2 separate regions of the Homo sapiens genome follow, and region 2 is linked to region 1. The links are contacts of gene promoters, found by promoter capture Hi-C in human tissues and cell types (Jung and others, 2019). All regions are on one chromosome and are shown on one strand. Each heading gives the region's core, a stretch centred on a gene start or on the middle of the fragment in contact. The rest is flanking DNA. Distances are from core to core; before and after follow the strand shown.

Region 1 (2,663 bases), core at 89-2,588:
AGGAATAATGCACAGACGGAATTTAGAAAAAAGGAAAGCCAGAACAACTGCAGACGGTTCTTTTCGCTTTTGTATAGGACTGAGCTCCTCTTCCGGACAAAAACCAGGAATAAGGGAGGTCTTCTTAGTAAAAGCAAAAGTAAATTGTCTTAAAAAAAAAAAAAAGGTTGCAAGTGATTTGGTCTTTCCAGAAAAGTCAATACCATGTCTAACAGTGGTCTCTACTACAATAACCTGAAGGTGCTAATGACCCTCACAGTAAAATAAGCTAGCAAATGGCCACACCGTAGAGCGCCTACATTTACTGCCAATTAAGTCCAACTGCCGCTGTCTTAATATTTTCGCTTTTTAATGAATCCTCTCTCTAGGTATTCCGATCCATCCACCGGTAACACGCTGATACTTCGAAATACTGCAGGCAGGAGTGGACGGGGGAGAAGCCCCCCCCCTCCCCGGGCTTCTTTCGTGTTCGGGCCTCTGCTGCCGCGATCCACGGAAGCAAGAATGAGTTCCATCGCTTGGGGCTCACCAGCTAGAGGGCTGGCGGAGGCTGCGAGGGGCAGAAGTAGCAGCAGGCTACTGGGTGGGCAAGCGGTGTGTACCGCAGCTGTGGAGGACATCGACGCGGAACGCCCGGATTGAGCTCAGAACACACCGGCCCCGCCCGGGACTCATTCTACAAGCTTCTTCGGAAGAGGCGCCCGCCCGGGAGGAAGGGTCTAACCCCGGGCTCCACCGGGAGGAGATAAACTACTCACTGTCAATGTCCTCGATGAGGCTGGCGGTGCCAGGCATATAGTTCATTTTGAACTGAAATAATGCTGCAATGCACAGCGGCGGGAGGCCAGCGCGTCCAAAACCTCTTCCCTCCTACCGCAGTCGCCGCCTCGGTGGGACCAAGCCCGGAATCCCGACCGAGACCAGCACTTCTGCCCCGGCTTTCAGCCGCCGGGGGCTGCCGGAAGCTCCTCCATATTACCCTTACCCACTTCCTGTAACACGTGTGGGCCCCCAGGAAGAGGCGGGGCAGCCGTACCGTTGGGGGACACCCTTTCCCTGTTCCTGTTAAGTAGGTAAGAGGAAACTCCATTGGATAAATGGCGAGGAAACGTATACTCCCTCTTAAGGAACACGGTGTCTTCCTTCGTCTCCGGGTTCCCGAGACCCCAGAGTCACTGACCTCCGTCCCTCAGCTTTCGGGGTTCGGCAGCAGAAGGGGCGGGCCCGGGCCTGGGATTGGCTGGCGTCGTCCGACCCCCTTCGCTGCTCTCCATTCGCAATCGCCCGCGGGCGCCTGCGCGATGGGTCGGCCGTGGGGAGCGGGGCGGGAAGCGCTTCAGGGCAGCGGATCCCATGTCGGCCCTGAGGCGCTCGGGCTACGGCCCCAGTGACGGTCCGTCCTACGGCCGCTACTACGGGCCTGGGGGTGGAGATGTGCCGGTACACCCACCTCCACCCTTATATCCTCTTCGCCCTGAACCTCCCCAGCCTCCCATTTCCTGGCGGGTGCGCGGGGGCGGCCCGGCGGAGACCACCTGGCTGGGAGAAGGCGGAGGAGGCGATGGCTACTATCCCTCGGGAGGCGCCTGGCCAGAGCCTGGTCGAGCCGGAGGAAGCCACCAGGTAAGCTTTGCACCCTCTGTCCTTGCGGGGAGGTGAGGGCCCTTGGGGCTGGGGTTCGTAAAGGATCGGGTTTCATACTTGTTTTCCTTATGTGGAGGAGGGTGTGTTGCGGGGGGTGTTGGAGAGACCGAGACTAAGATCAGAGGTTGGGGGGACATGCTTGTGTTCCCTTTGCCCCTCCTTTTCTGCTTCGACCCCAAAAAATATGTTTATTACCATTTAAAAAAGAAAGATCCTGCGCGGACTTACTAAGCTTAGCAGCAGGCTGCAGATCTCTCTCCTGGGAGCGGTGCTGGGTAGGGGTGGCACGGATCTACTGCTCCAGCTCTAGCAATTTATCCTGCGTGGCTGGCAGGCCGGCTCTCCCGGGGAAGGGAAGTGGCTGCAGCCCCCGATGCCGCTCAGGGACCCTCCCGAGGGGAAGGAACCTTTGCGAGGAGGAGGGATCTGGGCATTTAGCTGTTTGCCCCTAATGCCTTGCCTGAGATCGAATCATGAATAATCAGTGTTGTAAAGTACCTTTACGCGGATTGACTGATTTAATTTTCACGGCGACTGCAAGGTAAAATGGCATTACAGCGGCCCTTTTTTTTGTTTTCGAATAAGGAACCGGGGCTCTGCGAGGTTAACTCACTTGCCTAATACACTTGGACCTGCAACATTTTATTCTCCGTTTTCCTGCCGGACATATACTTCTGCTTTGTTAATACAGTCTTCTGGGTAGTGGGTTGTCGTTCTGCGGTGGCAGCATACCTCTCTGTTCGTTCAAGAATTATCCTCATTTGTTGAAAATGTAATAGTGAAATTCTCGTACATTGCTGGTGGGGATGTAAAATGGTGGAAAATAGTTTGGTAGTTCCTCAAAACATTAAGCATTAGAATTAGTCTATGACCCAGCAAGCCCACTCCTGGCTATATACCCAAGAAAACTGATAACGTATGTTCACATAAAGCTTGTCCGCCCATGTTCATAGCATCATTATTCATAATCGCCAAAAAGTAGAAATGTCGTTTTTTTTGTTTTTTTTTTTTTTGAGTTG
Region 2 (2,663 bases), core at 99-2,598, 610 kb after region 1:
TGTTGGCAGGGCCTTGCTCTTCTGAAGGCTCCAGGAAGTCTGTCCTTGCCTCTTCTAGCCTCTGCTGGGTGTCTGCAATCCTTTGTGTTCTTTGGCTTGTGGCAGCAGAACTCCAGTCTCTGTCTCAACACATGGCCATCTTCTCCCTATGTATCTGTCTTACCGTGCCCTTCCTGTGAGGACACCAGTCGTTGAAGTTAGGGCCCACCCTAATCCAGTTTGACCTCATCTTAACTTGGTAACATCTTCAGAGATACTATTTCTAGATAAGGTCACATTCATAGGTACTAGGAGTTGGGACTTTAACATATCATTTTGAGAGACATAATTCAGCCCACAACAGAGAGCTTTGAACAGAGGGATTGTGATTCAGCTTCTTTTGTAAAAGGCTCCCTGGGCTGCTGTGTGGAGAAGGGACTCTAGGATGGAAGTCCTTTTTATGTGGTTTCTCTGTTCCAGTATCTGGCACTGTCACCCTGAAGTGGCAGCGCCAGCTTTCAGTTATCTAGCTACCTAAACTTTGTGCTGATTGTGACTTTCTCCTCTCCCTAATAAGTATTTTTATTGCTTAGCAACTTCTTCGTAGGTTGCCTAGGGAAGTCAAGTTACTCTGGTAATAGACTGCATGATGGAGCTGGAATTATTGGTAAAATGACATCAGCAAAAAGCTGATTTGGTTTTGCTTTAAATTGATAGCTCCATGCTGTGCTTACCCAGCTGAGAATTCAGCAATACCCTCAACTTGCCCTAGGCTGCATTTTGCCATTGTTCTAGGCAGGGACAACATGGGAATAGGCAAGCTTATATACTGGAGAATTTGTGTGCGACGCATAGCTGTGTAGCACTCTCAGTGATGAAGATAACACTTATTCCTCATAGCTTCCCTTTTCTTCCGTAAAGATTGGCAGATCAGAAGGGAGATTTTGAAGCTTGAAAGAACTATTTGGTGGCCTTTCCATCAAATTTAAATAAAGCTCATAAGACACATGTTAAGGAGCTGTTTGAAAGCCTTTTTGAATTGCCATCAGCTTGGGCGGCCCTTCCTCATCGTTTTGTCAGCTGCTAGACTGATTCATCCCGCCAGATTCTTTGCCAATTGAATAGAGGCCTGGATGACCTAGGCCCCCAAAACCACAGAGACCCAATTGTTTGGTCCTTCCTGTACCAGTGACTCTCACATTTTTTTCATTCTCTCTAAAAGGAAAACTTTTAAATGTTTATGGATCATGAAGGCTCTATGGGGTAGTTCATGAATGCAGACTGTAATTGTAGGGGTAGAGGAGTGTCCAGTCCAGGAAACAACCCTGCATATTATGAAGGCTTTCAGTTTAGGGTCTTTAAACAATAGGATGATTGCTCATCAACCTGGTCGTACCCTGACTTCCAGGGTCCTTGGGTGCAACATCCGGAGCTAGTCCAGAGTACCGCCAATGGCCTTGTCACACATACACAGCAAATGTGCAAAGACAGCCAGAGCACAGGTCTGCCTGGAGAGGATTTCAGTGGGCAGAAAGCCCTTCAGAGTCATTTCATATTGAAGTTTAATTTCTGGGACTGGATAAGTTCCCTTTCTCCCAAAATTATTGATTGTTTTGTTCCTGGTAAAGATAGTCTTTCATACTTTTGTGGTTCCAAGACATGGTTGGACCGCAGTTATAAATTATATAAGACTAAATCATTCTGGAAGAATGATTTACGAGGAGTTAGTCAGGAGTTGGAGTTGAAATATGTAAACATTCTGGCTTCCTGGTACATAATGGCCCTCAAACGTGTGGGCTACATTTACCATACCCATGGCTCCTGTGCTGACTTCTGTATAGTTCTTTGAACTCAGGGAAACATCTAAGACTATTTTGAAATGACTTTTCTTATACTGGAACTGCTTTAGGAACTTGCAGTATCTAAACTCTATAATGACTCTTCCTAAGAGTTGTATGCCAGGAGTTAAGTGGCGGATAAGGTTGTAGATTTTTTTTGAAGCCACATATAGAAGCAGGTTTTAGGCTTACTGGTAAAATAAAACTCTAGCTAAAGATATTTCCTGGAAATAACCAGACTGGTAGCTGTAAAGCTTGGGCTGGTCTGTATTTGCTATCTGTCTGTTTTCTCCCACTAAAGTTGTTTAATGCTGCTGCTGTTGTGGTGGTCTTTCTCTTTGCTGGGAAATATATTGGTGAAGAAACATCCTCTAGGAATGGACTTTTGAGGAGGTACAATCTCAAGTTCATCCTCTGTTTTGTTTTGCTTTGAGACAGGATCTATGTCTAGACTGGAGTGCAGTAGTATGATCATAGCTTACTGCAGCCTCCAACTCCTGGGCTCAGATGATCCTCCTGCCTCAGCCTCCTGAGTAGCTGGGACTATAGGCACACACTACCATGCCTGGCTAATTTTTTGTTTTGTTTTGTTTTTTGAGATAGAGTCTCGCTCTGTTGCCCTGGCTGAAATGCAGTGGTGCGATCTCGGCTCACTGCAAGCTCCGCCTCCTGGGTTCACGCCATTCTTCTGCCTCAGCCTCCCAAGTAGCTAGGACCACAGGCGCCCACCACTACGCCCAGCTAATTTTTTGTATTTTTAGTAGAGACGGGGTTTCACCGTGTTAGCCAGGATGGTCTCGATCTCCTGACCTCGTGATCCGCCCGCCTTGGCCTCCCAAAGTGCTG

The links. The method cuts DNA at HindIII sites, captures the fragments that hold promoters and counts their contacts. A contact is called where the count stands out against the background at its distance.
Region 2: a fragment that was not itself captured here is called in contact with the fragment with the promoter of BAG4 in region 1 in 1 of the 25 tissues and cell types used here (dorsolateral prefrontal cortex).

Annotation. Positions count from the first base shown.
Region 1 is chr8:38,175,517-38,178,179 of GRCh38, forward strand. It overlaps BAG4 (BAG cochaperone 4), which reads left to right and starts at 1,339. Exons shown (of 5, transcript NM_004874.4): 1 at 1,339-1,623. The coding sequence starts at 1,354. LSM1 (LSM1 homolog, mRNA degradation associated) reads right to left here and starts at 977. Exons shown (of 4, transcript NM_014462.3): 1 at 759-977. The coding sequence starts at 804. RefSeq lists enhancers at 1-802, 382-471, 803-1,660, 882-1,031, 1,942-2,281. The HindIII fragment of the contact is 1,071 bases long and covers 1,156-2,226 here.
Region 2 is chr8:38,790,071-38,792,733 of GRCh38, forward strand. The region is part of intron 2 of TACC1 (transforming acidic coiled-coil containing protein 1); the gene reads left to right. Among named protein-coding and RNA genes, the nearest start is that of TACC1, 4.2 kb to the left of the region's middle. The HindIII fragment of the contact is 3,949 bases long and covers 1-2,663 here.